4 separate regions of the Homo sapiens genome follow, and regions 1, 2 and 3 are each linked to region 4. Evidence: promoter capture Hi-C in 16 types of primary human blood cells and fetal thymus (Javierre and others, 2016). All regions are on one chromosome and are shown on one strand. The core of a region is centred on a gene start or on the middle of the fragment in contact, and the rest is flanking DNA. Distances in the headings are between cores, read along the strand shown. Region 1 overlaps SAMD12-AS1 (SAMD12 antisense RNA 1). Region 2 has its middle 160 kb from the start of SAMD12. Region 3 has its middle 140 kb from the start of SAMD12. Region 4 holds the start of COLEC10 (collectin subfamily member 10).

Region 1 (2,700 bases), core at 119-2,618, 400 kb before region 4:
GAGGCAGGAGAATCAATTGAATCTGGGAGGCGGAGGTTGCAGTGAGCTGAGATTGCACCCCTGGACTCCAGCCTGGGCAACAGAGCAAGACTCTGTCTCTAAATAAATAAACAAACAAACAAGTAAATAAAATTCCCACTTGCATTGCTTATCTATGACATTATACCACAAACATGGACTAAGCTGTTCTTGATCATATGGTCTTATATTGATAATATTTATATCTGTGTAGCTGTTGAGTAAAGCGTATGTTGACATGAACCCCACCGGAAATGAGGTTCTGCTCTGGGCTACTCCCTTTGGACCCAGTGTTTTTTAATGCAAAGGACTTGGCAGTAAGAACATCCATCTTTAGTGCCCAAATTGATAAAAAGCAGGGAAGGACTACCGATCTTGCTCAAAAGTTACCATTTACCAGTTACTTAAATCCCCTTTGAATTGACCCTCTTCTGCAGCTTAAATTATAAGCTCCCTGTCTTCAAATGTCTTAAAATCTCTAAAGCATCATGGGATGTGTTTCTTTGGAAAGAAAGCTGGAAGTTATGAGATGTGGAAAGAGTGTAGAATGGAGTGATTGAGGTTGTGAAGGTATAACCAAGAGAAAGGAGGTTCACTCACAAATGAGAGTTAGATTGAGCGATGGTAAATTAACCTTGAGGCTGGAGGAGGCAGTAGACATGCCATTTATCATTTCTCCTTGGTTAGAGATGAAGATGTGACAAGAATACACACCCAAAAGCAAAGCGACCCATGCTGTCTGTTCACTTCACATCTCAGGTGTTGTCTTACTCAATTTTTTGGCAGCATGACAACTTGGCCTCCTCCTCTCATTTTCTTCCCTTGGCTTCTGGAATCCTGGGCACTCCTTGTTTTCCTCTTATGGCTTTAACTGCTCCTTCTGATCTCTCCCAGGCTGGTGAAGTCACTCCTATCTTTGCTCCCATGATGACCTATGTCCACTTACTTCCTTTATGGTACTGGCTCCAACTACTCAAAGGTTTCTTTAGTTGTATCTTCACTGTATTATTTTTATATTAAATATATAAAATGATATTTTATATTAACTATATCTTTAATAAAAGTGGTATACTATTCATTTATGTCTCCCCAAATTAGACAGACACCTAATAGGGCATCAATAAGTGTTTACTCTTTTATTATTTTTATTACTTTAATTTTTTTTTTAGATATGGTCTCACTCTGTCACCTACACTGGAGTGCAGTGGGGTGATCAGGGCTCATTTCAGCCTCAACCTCCAGGGCTCCAGTGATCCTCCCACCTTAACCTCCCGAGTAGCTGGGACTATAGGTGTGTGCCACCACATCTGGCTAATTTTTGTATTTTGGGTAGAGATGGGGTTTCACTAGGTTGCCCAGGCTGGTCTCAAATCCCTGAGCTCAAGTGATCCTCCTGCCTTGGCCTCTCAAAGTGTTGGGATTACAGGTGTAAGCCACCATGTCCAGCCAACAAATGTTTGTTAAACTAAATTAATTGATTGATCCCATACACACTCAAGAGATCCAATAGAGAAATGAAGTAAAGGCCAGTGGGAAATGTCACCAAAAAGAATAGTGACTTACCTTTCTAATGTATGCAGTTGTCTTGCCACTTAAAAATATAGCTCTTTTTGATTACAGCACTGATACATATTTATTGTATTTAAGTAACTGGTATTGTAGAAGATCTGAAAAATAAAGAAACAAAGGACACAAAAGCAATGCACAAATCTACCACCCAAAGATCACCATTGTAAATAATTGTGTGTATTTTCTTCCAGGCCTTTTTCTAGGCCTAAGTCGGGGTATAGATATATGTAGGTATGCATGTGTGTTTGTGTGTGTGTGTATGTTGTGCATGTGTGTGTCCTTTTTTCAAGAGAATTTGGATCATAATGAAACAAACGATTTTGTACTCTTTTTGATTCAATATATTCTTATATTCTTTCACTTTGCAAATATTTGTTGAGGGCTTAACATAATGTACTAGGTACTATTTTAGGCTCTGGGAGTGCACCAGTCAACAGTATTTTGAATGTTTTTCTGAAAAACTTGATTTTAAATGACTTACTAATGTTTTACATTTTAGGTCAACTAAATTGGTTAATTTAACCAATTCCTGACTGTTGTTGTTACCATTTCACAGCACAATTAGTAATCTTGCAACAAGTAGCTTTATTCATAAATCTTTGTGTTTTTCTTTGATCATTCACTAGGATAGAATGGAAGTAAGTTCAAAGACTAGTTAACAAACTATAAAACATGAACTTTTAAAAAAAGTGTCCAGGGATACTTCAGTAAAAGGTTTTGGTAATTTATAAACCCCAATTTCCATCAGTGTATGAAGGAACCCATCTTACAACTCTCACCAGTGTAATTTGCATTTTCATTAAGAAATATATTTATCTGCCTATATATTGCCTCACGTTAGAATTATTTTATTCTAGTAGGTGTAACTTTCATATTCTTATATAAGTATTTAATCTTGTTTTTCCATTAATTTTTTATTGATTCTCATGGAATGTGGCTATTCAGGAAATATAAACTTAAACTTCCCTTTAATAGGAAACCCCTAAAATCCTATAGTAAGACTTTTTTTTTTTGGATCCAAGTTGTATTTTAGCTTACTAGCAGAGGTCCTGGGGTTTTCAAAATGGTTTCTTGCTCATTTTTTTCCTCGGTTAACATTCAGTTCAGGTGTGC
Region 2 (2,700 bases), core at 137-2,636, 290 kb before region 4:
GTTTCACTTTTTACGAAAATAAGTTGCCGCTATGTCCTCAACAAAGCGAGTTAACTTGAGACTCATTAACCCAAAGACAAAATTGGCCAAAAGATTTCAGGTCTTCCACAAGCCTGAGAACAAATCCAGCCATAAACCCTTTAAATGAACCCCCAATATCCATTTCCCTTTTATTTCCTCAGGATGATCAGCCCTGACCCGTTATCTTGCGGTTCATTTCATGTTTGTTTAGGGCAGGGGTGTCCAATCTTTTGGCTTCCTTGGGCCACATTAGAAGAACTGTCTTGGGCCATAAGTAAAATACACTAACACTAACAATAGCTGATGATGAAAAAAAAATTGCAGAAAAACCCCTCAATTTTTAAGAAAGTTTACAAATTTGTCTTGGGCCACATTCAAAGCTGTCCTGGACCACATGTGGCCTGTGGGCCAAGGGTTGGACAAGTTTGGTCTAGGGCAACCCAAAGAAATTGTAATAGACTAGCACTAGGGGGATCCTAAGGGAACATGCCAGTTAAACTCTCCTACTATATAGACAAAAAATCCTTCTTTGGAGTTCAACTTTCCCTTGGGTTAAAGTGCTGGTTAGTGTGAGAAATGACAATGGAATTAAGGCCACCTAATTCAGAGTCTATGCCACTTACGGCAGCATATGGAGACTCTAGGAGCATTCGGACATTTGAGTTCCTTGACACCAGTCTAACCAATGGGAGATGCCCAGGGGAAATCCTCCAGTTTCTCCAAGATCCTCTTATGTTCTCAACATAGTAATACTCAACTTAACTATAGCTTCTATTATCTCTTGGGGAGAAATATTCAACAAAAGCAATTAAGGGGTAAAAACTCCATTGGTCTGGTAGGAATTTACCTCTGTCTCAGAACTAAAAAAAAACAAAAAACAAAAAAAGAAACCCTATTAACAGATCCTAGATGCTATTATATCAAGGGTCCCAGGAAATGATTGGCTTGAACACTTGAGGGTTTCAGAATAAAACCTAGGGAAAATGCATGGTGTCTCTAAACCTCAGGCAATTTGCTGTGGCTGCCAAGGCCTCCACAGAAAGCATTTTTCAATTGGTATATTTATACTTTCTTTACTTAGTATTGATTCTAAATAAGGATAAAACCCATCCTTGATGGGAAGCCTATGAGTAAGAACAGATGAATTAAAGTTTGTTTTATCTTCCCACTTTCCTTTTGCTGTAGCCAAAAAAAGCCTTCTCTTCAGGGGCAAATGGGATGTATTCTAGAGGCAGTAGTCACTGCTTTCACAACAACTAAATGATAAAATGGTTGGAGAGAGTCTAGGGCAACAGGAGCATTGGGTTTAGGTGCAGGTTCAAGGCTTCCTAAACATTTCATCTATAAAACTGGGTAAAATAGGCCATCTTGAAGGTCTGCAGGTCTCTGAACATCACCGCCCCAAGCTCTATATTGATGCCTAGGCTTGCCATTTTTTTTAACTCTATATTCCTCTTAAGACACCTGCTTTTGAGCCACTAATAAAGTACTCTAGCACTCTCCTCTCTCTCTCTCTCTCTCTCTCTGTCTCTCCTTCCCTCCCTCCTTCTCTCTGTGTCTCTCCATTTCTCTCTCTCCATCTCTCTCTCCCTCTTTTTCTCCTTTTCCCTCTCCCTCTCTCTTTTGGATCTTGCAACAGACTGACTTTACCTAAATATTTGCTGATTGGCTATTCGTGGAACTAATAATGATCTCTGGGCAATTTGCCATATGGGAGAAATTGGGTGGAGAGAATGAATGGCCAAGATATGATTGTTCAGACATCAGCTGCTCACGGCTGTATGTGTGTGCGTCTATGTGCTATAGACAAATATTAAGTCAGACCTGCTCAAACAGGAAGTGTGATAGTTTTTTAAAATTATGGTAGAGCTCAAGTTGATCTTTGCTTCAGTTATGCAACCAGGTTTGTAAAGATACAGGGAAATTTTGTCCATGCTTTAAAAGATTTAACCATCTTTTCTAACACTGGAGATTGACTTCCACATGAACATGATTTGCCCCTATTTGCAGCCTGTTCTCTATATCTCACCACACAGCTACTCTCCCCTGCAAGTTGACATTGCCGAATTTTTGCTGATATTTTTTTCATTCCTGATGCCCCCATTTTTTTCTACTCCTCCCTTCCCTCTATAAGTCCATGTATTGTATATGGTTCATTTTAAATGCCCTGAAGAAAACCTTCCCAAATCCTCTAGCATTCAAATCCAACATTTTCCCTCCCTGAGTTCCGTAATAATTTACTTGTACATCTAATCCAGTGCTTATTCCATTCTACCTGACATTATGGTGAGACGTTGAAAGAGGAATAGTGAGAGAATAGAAAGAAAACAGGCTTTGGAATTGCAGAGTGGGGTTTGGCTCTTGAAAATTCTAGCTGAAAAATGTTGGGCAAGTCTTTGAATATTTTTGAGTCTCAGTTTTCTTCTCTCTAAAATGGGCATACTAATCACTTTGCTGGTTTTTGTCAAGGTAAAAGAGATAACATATGTGAAGAGCCTAACACAATGCCTATTCTGTGGTGAGTAATAAATATAAGCTACTATCAATAAGAATTATATATGAATTTTATCCTTTTGTAACTTTCTTAGTGATTTGAAATGCCTAGAAAACTGTATCTGCTTCAAAATTGTTTGTTGAATAAAGAAACAATTCTCTTGACCTAGTTTAAATTCCTATTAT
Region 3 (2,700 bases), core at 78-2,577, 310 kb before region 4:
ACGAATTTTGCTCAGAGTCTAGTAGGTTTCATTAAACTTTTGAAACACCAGTACTTAGACTTCAAAAGAACGCCTCAGGGCTCTGGTCTCCTTCCTGTGCACTTAGCACATCTGATTTTGCCTTATTCTCCTGGTAAAGTTTTTGTTAAAGTTAGTTGTTAGCATGAGTAACATCATGAAGAAGTGGCACAAAAGCATGCAAAACTTGTCTGGGCTCAAAATATATCACAGACAAATTCTATTCAAAGTGGTGGTTTTCATGGTCACATTATTCTATAATCATTTACTGTCTTAGACTAGTGGGTCTGGTGTTCCACCTTGACTTTGTGTACTCTCATTCCACACAAACACTCATAGGCATAGAGTGCAGGTGGCCCCATGTCAGGTCCTAGGAGTGTCCCTGTATGAGCCATCCCATGTGGACACACACAAAGGAGTTGGGAGGAGATGAAAGTGCCTTTTTGGTAAAAGGCACATTTGATCTTTCACAACTACCACAGAGGACAAGGCAGGTTTCCTGGAAGAAGCACATGGGAGGGAAAAGGAAAATTAGAAGGCTTCATCTGAGAAGTTGAGGCTAAGCTTGAATTCCTAATTGCCAGAGGTCGTTTCCAAGAAGCATGTCTGTCTGTGGTGTACCAGCTTTCAGCTGGGTGGCTCCTAGATCATGTCTCTTTCGTCAACCAGGCTGATGGCACCAGCACCAGTAGCTTCCTTCCAGGAATGCATTGCCCATCCTCTCTGGTTTTCTGTTGAGTTGGCCTGGCCCTGCTTAAGAGAAAAATAATTGGTATTCTTTCCTCCTGTGTCGGGCAGTAATTTCCTTTTGAGCCATCCCTTACAACAGGGCCAGCCCTCTGCAAAATTATGCAGTAGACAGTTTGCTTTTTTTTTTTAAGTACAATTTCCATTTTATTTTTCTCCAGAGAATAGTCTATCTTCAGTCTTTAAGAACTCAGCTCCTTACATGGGCTTTGGTGGGGGACGTGGGGCAGCACCCACAGGTCTAAATCAAGGTGGGGGTGTTCGGTCCTTGCGGGCTTCATGAGATCGATTCCTGACTACTTTGCTGTGAATTGCACAACTCACACAGTAAGGTAGCTTCACATACAGCTTGGGAAGCTCATTGGCATCGAAGACGCTCGCTTCAGAAATGTCCCTGATTGCTGCGGCCTCCACTATGTTTCGAATGATGAATTTCTTAATGGCCTTGTCCTTGGGCATGCATCGGGCACAGTTAGTGCAGCGAATAGGCTGCACGTGGCCGCGGCCCTTTTTGGTGTGACCGTTGTTCCTTCTTTTCTTTGTCATCTTGGAGGTACGGACCGAAGAGAGGAGTGACTGTTTGCTTTTAAGCATTTAATTTTTTTCTTTTTTCTGGTGACCATCAGCCACATTAGCCTTCTCCCATTGGCCCAAACTTTCAGGACCATTGTTTTTTCTTAGGACAGTCAGGGATAGCTTCACAGTCATGACTATGGTACCTGTATCCAGCTCACAAACACTCCTTCCTTTTAAAATTGTTGATTTGTTTTAAAAGTTACCAGTTTTTTGCCTCATTCTACCATGTGCCAAACACTATGCCAGGTGCCATGGCTACAACAACAAATAAGACATGGTCTCTACACTTACAGAACACACAGTTTCATGAGACAAATAGGCAAGAATATCCAGTGTCACAACAAAGCTCCAACGGCATGAGACAGCATAAAACGTTGGAAGAAATGTCACTGTGGCATAGCATGGATAGCCCCTAAAGACAGAGGATTGTTCTGGAAAGGCCATTAAGGAAGCATCCTGTAAGGATAGGGATATGTGTAAGCCTTATTCCGAGGGCTGTGGGAGACCCCAAAGAAAGATATGCAAGAAGATGATGAGAACAGATTTGCAGGTTAGCAAATTGTCTCTTTAAAGCATAGTCAGGAGACAAGACCACTTAGTTCATATCAGAAATCCAGATGAGGAATTGGATGGCCTAGGATGAAGTAGTGGTAGTGTGGATAGAGAGGAGAGGACAGATTTGAGAGATATTTAGGAAACAGACATTGCCTGTATTGGTAATTTCTTATGCCAAAGCTTGGAGAGATGGTGAAAGAGATAGAGGAGTCTTGAATGGCTCTAAGAATTATGTCACAGGTGAGGGCATGGTGATGTCTTCCCAGAAACATGGTATGCACTAAATGGAATTGATTGAAGTCTGTTATTTTGATGGTAGTGGGTATAGATAGGGCTTAACTCAAACTCCCAAATTTATTAATCACTTCATATATTACTTTCTTATCAAAATGGCATTAAATTGATTTCATTAAGTTAAAATGTCTCTTTTTTATACCATTAAAGAATTTAGATAATGCTGGCAGTTTTAGAGACCATGAAAAATCAATTGAAGAAATGTTCTTTCATTGGCTGGGTGCTTGGGTGGAGCAGAGTGTGGAGCTGCCTGGAAGAATTTGCATAATCTGGTCTCTGGCCATTAGGTTTAGATGTGACCGTCACCCTCCCTGCACACTTAATTTTTCTCTCACTTTTTTTCTCCAATTTCTTTCCCCTCCAGCCTTAAATTTGTTATTTTATTCCTTCCTATTCCAGCATTGCCAAACTCTCCTCTCTGTACAATGTGCTCTGGCTACAGCACAACCTCCCAGCTTTGTGTATTTGTAAAATAAAAGGAAAAGAATGGGCACTTCTTTTTCATGGATG
Region 4 (2,700 bases), core at 20-2,519:
CAAAAGGGTTGGCACTGGTTTTAGCCACCCGGCCGCTGGTGTAAGCCACTCAGTTTGTGGTGCTTTGTTATGGCAGCCCTAGGAAACTAATGCACCTGTATTTCTTGGATTGATGGTTACTTGTAACGACATCTCTTAGGGATATTTTTTCAGCAGTCAGTCTGTATCAGGATCTGTAAGGTCCTTCTTTTCCAATTTCAAGGAAAGCAGGTCCAAAATCCCTTTCACCTAACTCTTAGTTGAGATGCTGTTCAAGAATGGAGAAGGTAAGGGGCCTCTCCAATATATGTGATTCTGGTTCCAATCTTCCAATATCTTACTATGCCCATACTATTTGTACAGGTTATAGGTTTGTGGAATAGATAGAGATCCTGATCTCTGTATCTATATCTGTATCTGATCTACATACTCTACATCTAAATCTGTTGAGCTTTTTATGAAACATAATACCACAAGCTTTTCCCCCTTATTTTGTAAAAGACTTGCTGAAAACACCATTTTAATAAAATTGTCATGTCATACACTCTCATATATTTTACCGTAATTTGCCCACTGTTAACACGTTGTTAGGCAATTGAAGGCCTTTCGCCTTTCTGCCACATCCCTTCAAATGAAGCTTTGCCCACATTTCAGAATATTTCCTTGAGATAGTGTACCAGAAAGGCTAAAAGCTATAAACTAGGCCAAAGGTAATAAACATTTTAATATTCCTAATACTTATCACCAAGTTGCTTCACAGAAAAGCTGGTTGTTCTTTCCTTTTGAATTTAATCACAAGAGAATAATCTTGGTAGCAAGAGTAAGAAGGTCATGGAGGGCATTGGAAGCATTAGTGTTCAACAGGCACAAGCAGGTAATAAATATCACCTTATGAAAAGCTCAAAGCCATGCACGGTGTTTGCATAACATGTTGCTAACTGAAGACCTCTCTGGTTCACAACCTTTCTGAAACTCAGCGTTTAAATGCAATATAGCCTATTAAATTGTCAGCTCAAGTACTCAGCAGAAGGCATCTCTATCTTCTTTGTTCTTGGGGATGTTTCTACTGACATGCACACTGGAGTTCAGAGATAATTTTCAATAAACTGTTGTCACTTGAAAATAAACAGTCTGGACAATGTATGGTCCATTTGGAGCACTGAGAAAATAAACAACCTAGGGTATGCTTCCTTCCTGTCTCTGTAGCCCTTTTTGGAATGTGTGTTCCAAATACTTCCCCTTCTTCCCCAAAGCAGGAGGTTTTATTTAAAATAAAGCTGTTTATTTGGCATTTCTGGGAGACCCTTTTCTGAGGAACCACAGCAATGAATGGCTTTGCATCCTTGCTTCGAAGAAACCAATTTATCCTCCTGGTACTATTTCTTTTGCAAATTCAGAGTCTGGGTCTGGATATTGATAGCCGTCCTACCGCTGAAGTCTGTGCCACACACACAATTTCACCAGGACCCAAAGGTGAGGAAAGAAAACCACAATTTTCATGTATAATAAATATGATATCTTCCCTCATCTCTGAACCCCTTCCTAGATTTCAATGACTTTCTCTTCTCTCCTCCCTAGTTTCCTCCCATTTTCCTTCTATTTTGGAAAATCAGGATTTTCCAGATCTGGTCTGTTACTTATTTAAAGCTCTCCTTTGATGTTAGGTAAGAGGATGTTGGGAAGGGGAAACCCAGGACGGAGATCTGAGGGAACTTACCCAGGGCAGGGGGAAATTCCCTGTTCCATTCTGCTCCGGGGCAGATGCACAATCCAGGCATGAGTCTCCAGAAGCCCTTTCCTTCCTTAAAAGCACCTCTATTATTGCACTGTTTGTACTCTCCTCCTTTCTAATACTGATGCTGGTAAAGCTGTTTAAGCAAAAGGTCAGTAACATAAAACTTAAATCTTAAATATATATTTCATAAGTTAATGGGATCCTGAGTTCCAACGTAGAGGATGGAAACATTTTGTCAAGCATTGAAGGTAGTATATAAATGAACATTTCTTTATTTGGAAGTGTAGTCTCTGGGGCCAAATGCCTTCTGCTCAAGGATGGTAGAATATTGCAAAATGTTCTCAAGTACAGCCAAGGTCCAAATATGCTTTAAGCAACCAGTAGATTTTAAAAAATCTATTTTTCTGGTTTTAGCTTTCACCCTTTTGTTCTGAAAGTGGTCACTGCACTGCAGATTGGTGCTCCCTTATTAGTAATTCATGCTGTTTCTCCAGGCTATAGGGTAGAAGAATTGCAGCTGCCTAAAATTTTAAGTAGAAAAAAGTGTTTTTCCAAAAAACAAAATTCAGAAATACATTGCCCCATGCCTGTCAGTTATTTAAATGTGTATTGCTTAAAGTGCATTTTTCTTAATCACTGAATTAATTTTCCTCTAAGATTGCAATCCAAGTTTTAACCTTTGATACGATAAAATAAATGCTGTGAGGAACAATGAGAGCTTAGAGCTTCCAAATAATTTCTTGGGTGAATAAATGAATAATGCGAGGGCAAATGTTCAGAAAGAAAGTTTTGATTAGAAATAAAGTATTTGCTTAAAACCGTTACTGAAGTTTCCTTAGAGTATAGGAAACTTTAGATTATTCCTGGGGTGTCATGGGGGCATTGAAAATTAAAGTTTTCCTTGTCCCTGCAAATGGGAGAATCCATTTGAGAATAGCACTATTTTTTACCTAATAGAAAACTTCTCCCTTCCCATTTTCCCATTA

Evidence for each region. The method cuts DNA at HindIII sites, captures the fragments that hold promoters and counts their contacts. A CHiCAGO score of 5 or more calls a contact.
Region 1: a fragment that was not itself captured here is called in contact with the fragment with the promoter of COLEC10 in region 4 in 1 of 17 cell types (M1 macrophages); the score reaches 6.1 in M1 macrophages.
Region 2: a contact is called between a fragment that was not itself captured here and the fragment with the promoter of COLEC10 in region 4, in 2 of 17 cell types (M1 macrophages and monocytes). The highest score is 5.3, in M1 macrophages.
Region 3: a fragment that was not itself captured here is called in contact with the fragment with the promoter of COLEC10 in region 4 in 4 of 17 cell types (M2 macrophages, endothelial precursors, M1 macrophages and 1 more); the score reaches 11.4 in M2 macrophages.

The regions. Positions count from the first base shown.
Region 1 is chr8:118,670,255-118,672,954 of GRCh38, forward strand. All of the region lies in intron 3 of SAMD12-AS1 (SAMD12 antisense RNA 1), which reads left to right. Among named protein-coding and RNA genes, the nearest start is that of SAMD12, 50 kb to the left of the region's middle. The HindIII fragment of the contact is 5,440 bases long and covers 1-2,700 here.
Region 2 is chr8:118,778,520-118,781,219 of GRCh38, forward strand. No RefSeq gene overlaps it. Among named protein-coding and RNA genes, the nearest start is that of SAMD12, 160 kb to the left of the region's middle. The HindIII fragment of the contact is 4,138 bases long and covers 1-2,700 here.
Region 3 is chr8:118,760,889-118,763,588 of GRCh38, forward strand. It overlaps the pseudogene RPS26P35. Among named protein-coding and RNA genes, the nearest start is that of SAMD12, 140 kb to the left of the region's middle. The HindIII fragment of the contact is 1,494 bases long and covers 581-2,074 here.
Region 4 is chr8:119,065,978-119,068,677 of GRCh38, forward strand. It overlaps COLEC10 (collectin subfamily member 10), which reads left to right and starts at 1,270. Exons shown (of 6, transcript NM_006438.5): 1 at 1,270-1,452. The coding sequence starts at 1,305. LOC101927513 (a long non-coding RNA gene) reads right to left here. Exons shown (of 2, transcript NR_134297.1): 1 at 1,697-2,700. RefSeq lists an enhancer at 1,245-2,444. The HindIII fragment of the contact is 2,529 bases long and covers 615-2,700 here.